Linked DNA regions of Homo sapiens: region 2 is linked to region 1. Evidence: promoter capture Hi-C in 16 types of primary human blood cells and fetal thymus (Javierre and others, 2016). All regions are on one chromosome and are shown on one strand. Each heading gives the region's core, a stretch centred on a gene start or on the middle of the fragment in contact. The rest is flanking DNA. Distances are from core to core; before and after follow the strand shown.

Region 1 (7,105 bases), core at 1,932-4,431:
CTGGATTTAGGATTTTCATCAGTTGTGTATCTGATACAATGTTATTAAATGTATACAAAATTTGAAGTTATATATTCCTGTGAATTACAATTTAATGTTTATGTACCATTCCTTTTTATCTCCAGCAAAGTGTTTATCCTTACTATAAACTTTGTCTACAATCAAGAGAGTCCACAGCACCTGTTCGGCTTTTTCCCATCCTACTACTTTGAGTGTTTCTGTATTTTCATGTTGTGTGTATTTTAAACAGGATGTTTCATTCTGATTGTAATGAAGTCTTATAGCCTTTGACTTTCAGTCTTTAAACTGCTTTCATTTAATCTAATTAAGTTGTATGTAGATTTTCTATATTAGTCTTACACTTAGTTTTTAGTGCTTTCTATATTTTATTATTTTATCTTTCCATTCTTTTATTCTCATTGGTTTTAATATTTTTGTTCTATTTTCCCTTTTATAATCTTGTTACTTTTATGTTGAACTCTTTTGTCAAAAGCCCCTTGTTGGGAAAGTCTAGAGACTTTGTATATCAAATACAAAGCACTGTGCCTCTGAGCCTAGGATTTGCTGTTACAAAGAATTAATGAGAAGGTGGCTAAACTGCATAGGAAAACCATTTCTGTATTTATAGAGTAAGCTATTAATGCCATTGTAAGAATTACCAATATAGTGCTTTGTAAGTCCTCTAAGATCTGCATCTGTCACATTTGGCCAGACCCACTTGAACAGTCCTTTTCATTAGATGCTAATTACTGGCTTCTGTGCGAGGGACAGAAAGATTATTCACACAACTCACATCCACACAACAGCCAATCCTGTTAGGCTTTGACCTTCAGCTTTCAGCTCTGTATTTACTTTATTACATAAACATAAATATTATATTGTGATGTATATTCTTTTATATATTTTTTTCAAATACATAACTCTTATACATATATATTTTTATATATATAATTCTTAAATATATATTTCCAAATATAAATTATTTCATGTCAAGCTAAACAGGATAAAAACATGTAAACATATACACTTGGTTTTGGTCAAGTAAAACACAAAATCACAAGTTCATCACAGTTTAACAAGTGCACTTGAAGGGGAAGGAGGGAAAGAACAAACTGTAAACAAACAGATGAGCAGCTGCAAAGCCCTGCAAGGGTCCATTTGTTAAGGCTATTATAGCACAAAGCTACTAGTTCAATTAAAACTTCTCCTTTCACTCTGCCACATTTACTCTTGAGGGTCTTCAAAATAAGTGTGGAAATTCAGTAAACACTACACTAGAACTGAGTTAATCCTGTTGACAACAGAGATGACAAAAAAAAGCCATAAGCTGACATTAATATTAATTTCACCAAAACAGTAACTTTAAGGACTTATTTTTTAACACAGATAATCACCATAATCCTAGGGGGAAAGATATGCAGAATAGACAAGAAAACAGAAGCACTGCCTCAACAGCCCCTGAAAGCAGTAAGAGTGTCAACACAGGGAAAACAGGCAATAGCAGACGACAGAACCTCAGCAGACTAGACCACATGCCACAGCACGATGCTACAGAATCAAATTGAAATATTCTTCCAGCTCATAATGAAGCAAGTCCCACTGGTCCTCAGAGAAGGGTAACTCATCTCTCAGTGAAAGAAACCGCTTAAACAACAGACTGGCCAGCCGAAGCACGACAAGCTCCTTCTTAATGCTTTTATAGAGCATGTTGCCCTCTCCCATTCGCACAGGCTCCACAAGTTGATGCCAGTATGCGCTGAATGACCCACCACCTGGCCCAGGAGGCTCATCTCCCCAGCCCTCAGGGTATTCATGCTTGTAAAAGCATGTGTCTCCAAATGGGCAGTTACCCCTGCCTTCCGCAAAATACCTGCAGGCCTTGTTGCTCATTGCCTCCTTGTATTGCTGAATAAGTTTCTGCTTCTCTTCCTCCTCCTCCACCCAGAACTCACTGGGAATGACCAATTCAGAGGTGACCCTGCACTGTGGGCAAGACTTGACGATCCTGTTCTCAAACTGTCTGGCACTTCTCCACCTGCGGATACACCTAATACAGAAGGAATGGTTGCAATTGGAAAGAATGCCAAAGCGGCGGTCATTGGGGTTGGCCTTCTCATAGACAACCTCCATGCAGATGCCACACACCTTGTCCATACCACGCTGCACAGCAAACGAGAGTTCCATATCTTTCTCGTGTGCTTCAATGCAGGCCCTCATATGTTCTTCCCTCTGGGCAGCATCCATGGGGTGCAAGGTCTGCAGCCCACACATGTCGCATATGTCTCCATGGAGGTACATACAGCTCTCCCCACGAAAGCAAACTCCCCTGGAAGCATAATAGCAAAACCGCAACCCACTGCCCACAGCCATCTGCTTCCTCTCAGTCTCTGAGCTCTGTAGAGGAGCCTCGGGGGCAGATGCAACCCAGCGGCCCCGGTAGGGCTGCCCTGGAACAAACTCAATGGCATCCGCCCAGCTTTCTACACCTGCTCCTCCAGCAGCTCCACGGTCTGCATTGTCTCTCTCGGCTTCAAAGAAACCCCTTTCAGCAGCCGAGCCAATCACAGGCAAGGAAAGGGAGGATGCAGCCGGGGGGGCTTCCGCCACTTCCTGAGTCGGGGGCTCGATGTGCGCAGCCGTGCTAGGGCCTCCACCTGCAGAGGCCCCAGGCGGCGAAACGCCACCCTCAGTGGCCATCTTCCGACCAGAAAGGTCGTGCGAATAGCGACAGTTCTCCCCCTCCTTGCACTGCCCATGTATATAATACCTGCAGATGATCTGCTTTGTCCAAATGCCGCTGCTTCGGCTTGGCAACGGACTGGGCCAGGCTCCTCCTCCTGAGGCTGGGGCAGGCCTCAGGCCTCCTCTGCGGAGGTGGGCAGGGACTGGAGCTACAGGGAAGGGGGCCCAGCCCCTTGCCGCATGTGGCAGGGCTGAATCTGGAGCAGCAGATTCCCCGGAGGGCTCACAGACGGGAAGGTCCGGCCCAGACACACCCTCCCTTGCTGCCTCAGCACCTGCCTGGGCCCCGGCTGCCTCGTGGGCTTCTGAGGGAGCTGCAGGCTCTTCCATGGCTGCTTTGGCACCCCGAAATGGTGCCAGAACCTCTCCGGTATTTTTTCTTTATGGGCTTGAGGCCCGGAATGGCGGCCGCGCTCGGAGGCTTCTCTGGGGGAAGTGTGCATCTCTTTTTCCTTCCCCCCTGCTTTTGGGTCCCTCTGACTGTGTGTTCCTACCTACTTCCGGGCACAGGCAGCATGGCGGACACTTCCTGTGGGGGCAACGTACGTGCTCTGCCTGGTTTTTACCGCAATTTTCCAATCTGACATATTTTTTCGTTCACACAGGCGGGGACCAACCCAGCCCCTTTTGTCTGCCTTCTGCCTCTGCTTCGCTGTGTTCCGGCAGTCCCTAAGTCCCTTCTCACACGATTTCCTCAGGAGAATGAGGTTTTACTTTAATCTCTTCTGGTTTCGGTCATGCACGCTTCGTTGTATTTTCGTATCTGTCTGCCTTAAAAAAAATATAATCCTATAGATTCTGAAACATTTCATCCATGAATTATATAAATTCTTTTTTTATTCACTCCATCTTATGTCTGTGGTTTTTTTCTTTTAATGCCCGATCGCGGCAGGAAGCTTTTTTCAATTCGTTCGGTTGACAAGGCGCCGTTTCTTTTGGTCTTTGTTTTCTGGGATTTCTGAGGGCTTACACTGGATACGCTTTTCACCAGCAAGGCATTAGCAGAGAGCACTTCTGATCCGAGGCTAAGTTAGCACCTTTCAGATGTCTTTCTTTATTGTGATTACTATGCTCATTTTCCCACTGTGTTAGAAGCGCCAGACTTCAACCAGTCCTGATGCTGGCCTAATAAGACACTGTCCCCTGCATGACCCAGGCTTTTATTTTCTCTACTGGTTTAATTCATGGCAGCCCTTTGTTTCCCTTCCTTTCTTTCAACCCCATCTGTGCTGTGTTGTGGCAGGACAGCCTTTCATAACATATCCTGTGCCATATTATCCACAAAGGAATGGTCTTTAATTTCCATGTATGAGCGTTTTGTCATTTTTGCAGATAAATGTAGTAGATTAATCATTTTTTTGTATTCCTACTTTGCTGAGAGTACGTATCATGACTGCATACTGAATTCTGTTATGTAGTTTTATACATTTTTTGAGACAATTTTGTTTTTCCCTTTATTCTCTTAATGTGATTATTTGCAGCTATGAGTTTCAAATATTTAACTAACCAATTTGTTTCTAATAAGAAGCCCTTCTGTCATGATATATCATTTTATATATTATTGGATTTTTTTTCTATAAGTTTCTTTGAGGAAATTTTGTTGCCTAAATCTGTAAAGTGGAAACATATCTGAATATTTATAATCACCCAAGTCAACAAATTAAATTATAATTAAGTAGGTAAAAGCAATGAAAGCAGAATGAAGCAAATAATAAGGGCAAGAAAAGCAATGAAGAAAAACAAATATTAAATAAGGGAAATAAATTAAGTAAAATCCCTTAAACTGCTTATTGAAGCCAGATAATTTCTGGTGAAATTTATCAAGGAAAAATGAAGAAGGCTCTAATACCCAAGATCAGTAATTTCAAATATGTTATCACTACATTAATAACAGACATTAAAAATCATTAGAGAATATCAGGAACAAAGTTAGGAGATAAAACTTGAAAAGTTACATGAAATAGTCATATTGGTGGAAACATCTATTAGTAAAAATGACAGGAGCAGAAATACATGTGAATATGGATCTGTTAAATTACATCTGTAATTTAGATAATTATCTAAATAAAGGTCTCTAAAACTTTCTCTCTGAAATAAATCTAAAGGCAAAAAAAATCTGTATTTATTATTGCAAGTCCTAGCTAGTGTAATAGCAAAGAAATAAAAGATGTTATAACTGGAAAGAAATTATTGATGGAATGCAACAGAAAATTGAGAATAATTTACAGATAAGCTATTAGATTTAATAGGTACATTTAGCAAGGACACTGGACAGGAGTCCAATATATGAAAATCATTTTTATTTCTCTATCATCAATAACATTTGAAGTAAACATTTAAAATTAATAACATTCATAACAACATTAAAAGTTAGCTAACCTAGGAATTAAACTAATTAAGGTTATACAATAAAATTAAAAACATTTTAGCTTCAGAAGACCTAAATAAATTGTGGGATACTTTATATATAGTCTTTATAGTCGGTCAGTAGAAGGCTCAATGTTTTTAAAAGGTAGTCTTTTCCTAATTTGATAATTATTTGAAAATGGTGCTGATTATTCATCGTGAATGTAGGAAATGTTGGATTTATCTTTCTCCTTTTCATAGTTACCAAGTTTTATATTTTGCATGCAAGCTGTCCCAAAGTCTGCCTCACTTGAACTTTCTGAAACAAACTTTCTCTTTATCAGGATTTGTTTGTCAGCCCCAGTGATTTTTACAAGAAAAAGACTTGCAGCACAGCTCTCAGGCTTCTACGCCAAGCTCTCTACAAATTCACAAACATAAGAATCCTGAATATAAAATTATTACTGGCTTAATTGTGATATTTTCCTAGCACTGCATCTATTATTTGCTTAATTGTGATATTTTCCCAGCACTGTATCTAAATCATATTTGACCCTCTCTTGATGCACCAGCACTGTCCAGAGGAACTTTCTGTGAAGAATTTATATATATGCATGCTGTACAGTATGAAAGCTAGCCCCATGGGGTTCTTGGGCACTTGAAATGAGGCTAGAGTGACGGAGGAAATGAATGTCCATTTTTTAAATTATAAATTTAAATAGCCACATGAGGCTAGTAGTTACTGCATTGGAGTGAAGTTCTATACAATATTTGACCATCTCATCTCCTAACACAAGGGAACTGAGAAGCATATGTTTCCTCACCTGCCCAAGGCTATGCAGCTGGTGCCAGGCAGTGTTTGCTTCCAAATGCCCACCTGTGTGGCTGCCACTGGTGTTCATGTCTTATAGTCTGATAGTGACTTTATCTTTTAGTTTTGTCGTGACAATATTTCATATAAACTGTTATAAGCCAATATTGTATCCCATGATTTTAAATACCATAAAAAATTGAATAACTGGAAATAACTGGGCAGTGCATCTTGAGAAAAATAAACTAGTTCCCATCCTATCCAAATGTCTTCAGAGATCATTTCCTCTGACTGCCATTGTCTATATTCCTGCCATGATATATACATATGTATATTTTTTGAGCATCAATATTGTTTTTACAGTTCTCAGAAAGTAGACATTTAGTCATTTGTCTAGTTATTTGGCTCAGCTGTGCCTTCTTTTCTAACAAAACACTGACAGCCTCAGAGGCTGGGACCTGGTTTCCTTGTGCACACACCAGTCTGCAGGGTAGCATGGGATCCCCTGGCCGGTCAGCATTTGGGGGTCCGAATGGAATGAGTGCAAGGCTGGGCGATGGCAGAGCTGAGGTGAAGTCCGGGCAGTCTAAGAATATCCTAAGAGGAGGGAGCAAGTTCAGAAGTGAACTGCAGGATGGAGAGAAGCTGCAAAGTCCTGCAGTTTTTTACTCCAAACAGCTCAGGCATGCGCTGCCTAGCCCCGTGTGGTTAACATGTCCGTATTTAAAGAACACACAATTAATTGCCTAAAAGCATTATCCTTCTCAGCACTCTCCTATCCTTCAGATCTAACCTTTAGGCACTGCCGGCTGCCGGCGGGGTCCAGGACCCAGCGGGGCTGGGCGCGCGGAGCAGCGCTGGGTGCAGCGCCTGCGCCGGCAGCTGCAAGGGCCGCAGAAATTAAACGCGAGTGTCCAGAATCGGGCATTGTGGGTTTAAATCCTGAATCCACTGGTCACTATCTGAGACTTTCCCCTGTCACAAATTAGTTACCTTCTTTTATCCCATCTGACAACGGGAATAATAACAGCAAGAATTACACCGACTAGTTCACAGGTTTGCTGTATTAATTAATTTATAATAATTCATTAATTCTTATAAAGTGATTGGAACGATGCCTGATCTTTAAGATACCTGTAAGTGTCTCTTCTATTTTAGAACCACCCAAAGAATCCTGTGACTGAAGTCTTTGTGTCAGTCCCTCTA
Region 2 (7,562 bases), core at 3,960-6,459, 76 kb before region 1:
CCGGGCTGGCAGGCGACCTCGCCAGGATGGCAGGCCACGCAGCAAGGCTGGCAGGCCACTCCCCTGACTTGGCAGACCACGCAGGTCACCTGGCAGGCACCAGCCGTTACCTGGCAGGTGCCGCCGCCCATGCGCCAGGGGCCCCCGCCCATCCGCCCTGGCCCACCACCCATCCGCCCTGGCCCACCACCGGTGCGACAGGCCCCACCGCTGATCCGCCAGGCCCCACCGGTGATCCGCCAGGCCCCACCCGTGATCCGCCAGGCCCCACCCGTGATCCGCCAGGCCCCCGCTGTGATCCGCCAGGCCCCACCTGTGATCCGCCAGGCCCCACCTGTGATCCGCCAGGCTCCACCTGTGATCCGCCAGGCCCCGCCGCTGATCCGCCAGGCGCCGCCGCCCATCCGACCTGCCCCACAGGTCCTGGCCACCCAGCCACCGCTCTGGCAGGCCCTGCCACCCCCACCTCCACTGCGGCAGGCCCCGCAGGCTAGGCTGCCGGCCCCGCAGGTGCAGGCGGCGCCGCAGGTGCCTACGGCCCCACCTGCTACGCAGGTACCCGCGGCGCCGCCCGCTGGCCCGCAGGTGCCCCAGCCTGTGCTGCCGGCCCCGCTGTCTGCCCCACTGTCTGCCCCGCAGGCTGTGCACTGCCCTTCCATCATCTGGCAGGCCCCCAAAGGTCAGCCCCCGGTGCCACACGAGATTCCAACGTCAATGGAATTCCAGGAGGTGCAGCAGACACAGGCGCTGGCCTGGCAGGCCCAGAAGGCCCCCACTCACATCTGGCAGCCCCTGCCTGCCCAGGAGGCCCAGAGGCAGGCTCCCCCCTTGGTCCAGCTGGAGCAGCCCTTTCAGGGAGCCCCGCCCTCCCAAAAAGCCGTGCAAATCCAGCTACCCCCCCAGCAGGCCCAGGCATCGGGTCCGCAAGCGGAGGTGCCCACACTGCCGCTCCAGCCTTCCTGGCAGGCACCGCCTGCAGTCTTGCAGGCCCAGCCCGGACCCCCGGTAGCAGCGGCAAATTTTCCCCTGGGCTCCGCTAAATCATTGATGACTCCATCAGGAGAATGCAGGGCCTCTTCTATAGACCGCAGGGGCTCCTCTAAAGAGCGCAGGACCTCCTCGAAGGAGCGCAGGGCCCCTTCAAAAGACCGCATGATCTTTGCTGCCACCTTCTGTGCTCCCAAGGCAGTGTCAGCTGCGCGAGCACACCTGCCAGCTGCCTGGAAAAACCTGCCTGCCACACCGGAGACCTTTGCTCCCTCCTCAAGTGTCTTCCCAGCTACCTCCCAGTTTCAGCCTGCCTCTCTGAATGCCTTTAAAGGCCCCTCTGCTGCCTCAGAGACCCCAAAGTCACTGCCATATGCTCTGCAGGATCCCTTTGCCTGTGTAGAGGCCCTGCCTGCAGTTCCATGGGTCCCACAGCCCAATATGAATGCCTCAAAGGCATCGCAGGCAGTGCCCACCTTCCTGATGGCTACAGCAGCTGCCCCCCAGGCAACTGCCACCACTCAAGAGGCCTCCAAGACCTCCGTCGAGCCGCCACGCCGCTCCGGCAAGGCCACCCGGAAGAAGAAGCATCTGGAAGCCCAAGAGGACAGCCGTGGCCACACGCTAGCCTTTCATGACTGGCAGGGCCCAAGGCCCTGGGAGAATCTAAATCTGAGTGACTGGGAGGTCCAAAGCCCTATCCAGGTCTCGGGTGACTGGGAGCACCCAAACACCCCCCGTGGCCTGAGTGGTTGGGAGGGCCCTAGCACCTCCAGGATCCTGAGTGGCTGGGAAGGGCCCAGCGCATCCTGGGCCCTGAGTGCCTGGGAGGGCCCGAGCACCTCCAGGGCCCTGGGTCTCTCTGAAAGCCCAGGGAGCTCTCTGCCCGTAGTTGTGTCTGAGGTCGCAAGTGTCTCTCCGGGATCCAGTGCCACCCAGGATAATTCCAAGGTGGAGGCACAGCCCTTGTCTCCCTTGGATGAGAGGGCAAATGCGTTGGTGCAGTTCCTCTTAGTCAAGGACCAAGCCAAGGTGCCTGTCCAGCGCTCGGAGATGGTGAAAGTCATCCTCCGAGAGTATAAAGATGAGTGCTTAGATATCATCAACCGTGCCAACAATAAGCTGGAGTGTGCCTTTGGTTATCAATTGAAAGAAATTGATACCAAAAACCACGCCTATATTATCATCAACAAGCTGGGCTACCATACAGGGAATTTGGTGGCATCCTATTTAGACAGGCCCAAGTTTGGCCTTCTGATGGTGGTCTTGAGCCTCATCTTTATGAAAGGCAACTGTGTCAGGGAGGATCTGATCTTTAATTTTCTGTTCAAGTTAGGGTTGGATGTCCGGGAGACAAACGGTCTCTTTGGAAATACTAAGAAGCTCATCACCGAAGTGTTTGTCAGGCAGAAGTACCTAGAGTACAGGCGAATCCCTTACACTGAGCCCGCAGAGTATGAGTTCCTCTGGGGCCCTCGAGCATTCCTGGAAACCAGCAAGATGCTTGTCCTGAGGTTTTTGGCCAAGCTCCATAAGAAAGATCCACAGAGCTGGCCATTCCATTACCTTGAAGCGCTCGCAGAGTGTGAGTGGGAAGACACAGATGAGGATGAACCTGACACCGGTGACAGTGCCCACGGCCCCACCAGCAGGCCCCCTCCCCGCTAATAGGTGTAGCAGAGATCTCGCTCCTGTGTTTCCCTGGCCAGAGGCCACTGACAGGGTGGGGGGACATTTTTGTTCCTGGTGTTTGTGTTCCAGTTCCACGAGTGTACGTTTGGATTTTCAACTTGGTTTCGTATCTGCCAAAGCTTTGTACATTTTTTATGTGGTGTTGATTTCAATCGGCTACTGTTCTGTTCTGTATTTTGGCATCTGTGTTTTTAAGTGAGATCTGTGGTTCTCTGTTTTGTGTTTTAATTGTTATGTTTTGGTATCAGCTTTGTGCTGGCTTTGTGAAATGAATTGAGAAGCTATCCATCTCATTTCTGGTATAGTTCATGTAGCATTGTAATCGGTTGTTCTTTGAACGTTCAAATGACTCATCAGTAAAAACTGTCTACAGAGAAGTAAATATCTATATCTATATATATAAATATACTTTCAGCATAACAGAAGTGTTTGTCTTTATTCTAATTTTTACACTAGATGGTGGAAGCCAAGTTTTGCCGTATTCTCTGAATAGACATGAATAGCAAGACTACTCTCAGTTATAGTAAAAACCACGGTGATGGAATTGTTTTCCAAGGAGAGTACTCCATTCATCTTTATAAGGATGCAGTGATTTCAGTGGGTGGTTATACATAAGATTTCTCCAGGAGATTAATTAAAGCACACACGTTAGTGCCCAGCTGGTAACGTTGTTATTAGAAGCAGAAATGTCCTTAAGGGTATGTGGAGAAGAAGGGCCATCTGCCTGCAGGACTACAAATAACCAGGTGGTCCCGCTTCATGGAGAATTTGGCCAAAAGGGTATTTGTCAATCATGTGGCCCGTGGCGGGGTGTCCAGCAGTTCAAATTTGGGTTTCATCAACACACTGCTACCGGGATGGAAACGTGCTCCCTGCAGGATATCCAGGCTTATAACAGGGAAAAGGAAAAAACAGTCTTCATTTAATTAGAAACCCTGCAGATTGCCAGCAGTAGTGGCTGGGTTAGGGGAGGGCGTGGCAGGGTGCATTCCTATCAACATAGAGTTCTAGGGGAAGGTCCTGGGGGGAAGGGTCATTCTAACTTGTAGGGGAAGGCAGCCGGCAACGCCTGAAGTTGCTGAACAACCGCGGTCAGCCCTTGGCTATGAACCTGGTCTAGGCAGGAAAGGGACAAGGGAATGAACTGGCCTGAGTGTTTTGAGGAAGGATATTCAAGCACACACCAGGCTGGTGTACACAAAAGGACGTTCTTGTGGTCATACTCTCTTCCTGTGGACAGGGGACCATCAGCCCTACTTGCCACCGCATACTGTCTTATCAGAAGGAAGAAATCCAATCCCATATCCCGCTTCTAGGGTGAAGCCAAAGTCCCAGATGCGGTTAGTGGCGATGGTGGAATTCTCCTGCCACCTAGCGGCAGATTAGAGGTGCCACCGCAGCTGCCGCAGCAACAGCCCCTCCCACAGTGCTTAACTTCACAACCATGTATATACTTGGATTGCAGCTACTCCTTGCTTCACCACTTTTGCTCATAATTTTATCTATATCTGTGCCCAGAGATTCCTTCTTTTCTCTTATAGGCCAAGGTAGCATCTGTTTTCAAGTCCAATCCGCTCTTCACTCAACAATTTCTATCCTTGGTCCTGCAGCGCTGCCACTTAGGAAGCTGACTAGGAGAGGAGCCCACAAGATGCAGACTCTACTCCTAGCACCCGCAGAACTGAGCTTTCCAGGACGATGATCCCCGCCCCAGGACCTGCCAGGCCGCAGGAGCTCTTTCTCAAGTTGTCTAAGTGGTCAGGTAGTCCAAAAACTGGGAGGCAGTTTCCTATAAACTCCTTGGGTCAGAGAGTCCTGCGCATTTGTCCGCAAGCAATGTTTACTTATTTTTACAACAACAGCAAATGTCCATTGAAGGAGACAGCAATGCCCCAGCTGAGAACTGTCCCCAAAGGAGGTTTTGCTGGGCCAGTAAAGTGGCATATTGGTCTAGTATTTCTTGTTTGTGTTTAGTTTATTTATGATTGCTTATAAAGTTTTCTCCAGACCATTAACTCATGGCGTGCCTGAGCAAGATGCTCTTTGTGGAACAAAATTTGGGACTTTGTTCCAAATTTGGGACTTTGTCCCATCATGGGACTTTGGTGCCATACTTAAGGTGGGGGCTGGCTCTGCTCCATGGTAGAGAGGCTTACTTCCCAGCTGCAAACCTCACTCTCACACGTGACATATATCTAATGGCCTTCTTTAAGTAATGCCAAGGACTTAAAGCCTAAATTTGTTTATATTGTAATGAGATATAAATTGCAACAATGAAAAATGTGTTCATTACCAATGAGTAAACTAGTTAGATATTCAACTGAAAAGTTTAAGAAAGTGCAGCTAACATGACAGTGAAAAGCAGAAAACAAAGACCAGGAATATAGAAAAATACAGGTTAAAAAACAGCGGGAACTGGCCGGGGGTGCGGTGGCTCACGCCTGTAATCCCAGCACTTTGGGAGGCCGAAGAGGGTGGATCACAAGGTCAAGAGATCAAGACAACCCTGGCTGACAAGGTGAAACCCCATCTCTACTAAAAATACAAAAATTAGCCGGGTGTGGTGGCGGGCGGGCACCTGTAGTCCCAGCTACTCGGGAGGCTGAAGCAGGAGAATGGCATGAATCATGGAGGTGGAGCTTGCAGTGAGCCGAGATCGCACCACTGCACTCTAGCCTGGGCAATAGAGTGAGACTCTGTCTCAAAAAAAACAAAAACAAAAACAAAAACAAACAAACAAACAAAACAGTGGGAACGAATTCAAATCCCACTTATTTGAAAGTGCTAAAATGTAGAAAATGTAGAAAATGTAACACAAATCTCTTTTACTATAAAATTGAGCAAAAAGCCCAAACCTAGTAATAGGCAAAATGTATCACAGGAAAAAAATGGCAAATAACTGTTGAAACTGTTACACCTCACTAATAAAGATAGAAATATTAAATCTGTATTCCAGTTTTCATTTATTAAATTGTCATAGAATAAACTAAAACCCCATGTAATGTCCAATGTCAATGATATTGTTATGAAACTGGAACCATTATACACAACCAGTGAAAGTATAAGTTATTACAATTTGCCTGGAAATCAATGCAGCCAACTCTGTCTTCAAAAGGCTTTAACATGGTAATACTATTTTACCTAGAAATTCTTCATTTGGGAATATGTTGAATGAGAACAATCCACAGAGAAGGCAAAGACTTCTTCATAGAGAAAGCTGTTCATGAACATATGGGAAATTTATCAGGGTGTGAGCAGGCCCCCCTCCCCAATATAAACCTACAGTGTCAAGGGAGTACAGTGAGTTTCTGCTGAAAAAACCACAGGCTTCCTCAGAAAACAACTTGTAGTTTGTTTCAACACACAGAAAATGAAAGACTCAGCATCCACCATTATGGGCTGTAGAGAAGTCATTGCACTCTGTGCCTGAAAATTTTAAAACTAGGTGCTAGCACACTCTCCAAAGCCATAAATGACCTCAGTAAAATATATGATTTCTAGTGAAGAAAAACTATAGTTCTCAAAGTGATGAAATTCAATGTGCTCCTATGTCGAGTGTTCAACTATAAGCAAGTTAATATTTTAGGATATTTGTCTTAAGAAGATGATCTGAATTTTGGAATAATTTTACTCAAAGACATTACTCCTGAGAGCAACAGAGAAAAGGACCGGTTGTTTCTCAAAGCCACCAGTGAATCAACCTTGTCAGCAAACGAGAGTTAAGGATTGTGGCTGCAATTGACAGAGGACTTTCAAGATTAAGGGGCCGGGGCCCTGTGGCCGCAGTAATATCCATTTTACTGGGCATGTAGCCTATATTATTGATTTGCCCTCAGAGTTATAGGCACCCCCAGAACTCAGCAATTCACCCCGATGGTCATGATACTTGAAAGGATACATCATTCTTGCACTCCTGCCCCTAGCTGCCGGGGCTGGAAGCCTGGGTCCCTTTTTCTCTCTGATTTGATCGGTTGTCAGGTCTTGCCCGTTTTGCCAATTTGTATGTCAGTGTTTTTTCTCCTCTCCATCCCTGTGGACACGGCACCCTGCCAGAACTTGGCAGTTTCCTTTTTCATGGTCTCTGCCTTCAGTACTGCCCCTTAATCAAACCTCCACATTGGCTGCACAGGGGCCTCTGTGCCGCCGCCACACAGCTGTGCACACCTCATAATGCCTCTCCCTGCCTAAAGCATTTCAAGGCCTTCAGTGTTCCTTAGAGTAAGGTGCAGCAACCCTCAGCTCACCTTCCACACGTGAGGGTCCAGGAGCGGCTGGTTAGAGTAGGTTTACCTACAGAGAAATCTACAGACCATGCCAGGGGTCCCTCTGTGGGACAGCTCAAAGAATTCCTCGGATTCTGAATTGAAAGCCTAAGCAGACCACCAGGAGGGTCCTAAAGGGAAAAAGGCCTTGATATACAGGGCCCAAGCTACATTTTCCTGTGTGCAAGCAAATTTGTTCTTTCGGATCTCCCAGAGGGTTCCATTGTGAATTCCACCAAGGGATATATACAACACTACTAGCACAGTAAGTAGTACAATCCTCTAATCTGTCGAGATTCTGAAAGTTGTACCTGCCTCTTTTTAAGAGATGACACTTACGAGGAGCCTTCTTCATTATCAGCTTCCTCCTACTCTTATTAGTGACGCTAAATAGATCATCCTGGCTGTGTCAGCGGCATGCGCTTCTCTGTGCAAATGGTCTGGTTCTGCAAGCTGCCCATTCACCTCCCAATGAGACTTGCTTTCTGTGCTATCCCTTGTTCTGAGTGAATTCAGCTTGTGAGCTGCTGTTAACAGAAGCAATCACCACAGAACATTTTCTAGACCCAGGAGACTTCCTGGAGCTTCTCTCCAATGGCTCAGAATCTTCCCCTGAAACAG

What was found. The method cuts DNA at HindIII sites, captures the fragments that hold promoters and counts their contacts. A CHiCAGO score of 5 or more calls a contact.
Region 2: a fragment that was not itself captured here is called in contact with the fragment with the promoter of MKRN3 in region 1 in 1 of 17 cell types (neutrophils); the score reaches 6.8 in neutrophils.

The regions. Positions count from the first base shown.
Region 1 is chr15:23,561,750-23,568,854 of GRCh38, reverse strand. MKRN3 (makorin ring finger protein 3) reads right to left here and starts at 3,181. Exons shown (of 1, transcript NM_005664.4): 1 at 811-3,181. The coding sequence starts at 3,072. The coding sequence ends at 1,549. It overlaps MIR4508 (microRNA 4508), which reads left to right and starts at 6,724; the gene lies at 6,724-6,793. The HindIII fragment of the contact is 4,614 bases long and covers 1-3,640 here.
Region 2 is chr15:23,639,086-23,646,647 of GRCh38, reverse strand. It overlaps MAGEL2 (MAGE family member L2), which reads left to right. Exons shown (of 1, transcript NM_019066.5): 1 at 1-3,099. The coding sequence ends at 2,655. Among named protein-coding and RNA genes, the nearest start is that of MAGEL2, 5.0 kb to the left of the region's middle. RefSeq lists an enhancer at 1-338. The HindIII fragment of the contact is 4,818 bases long and covers 2,801-7,562 here.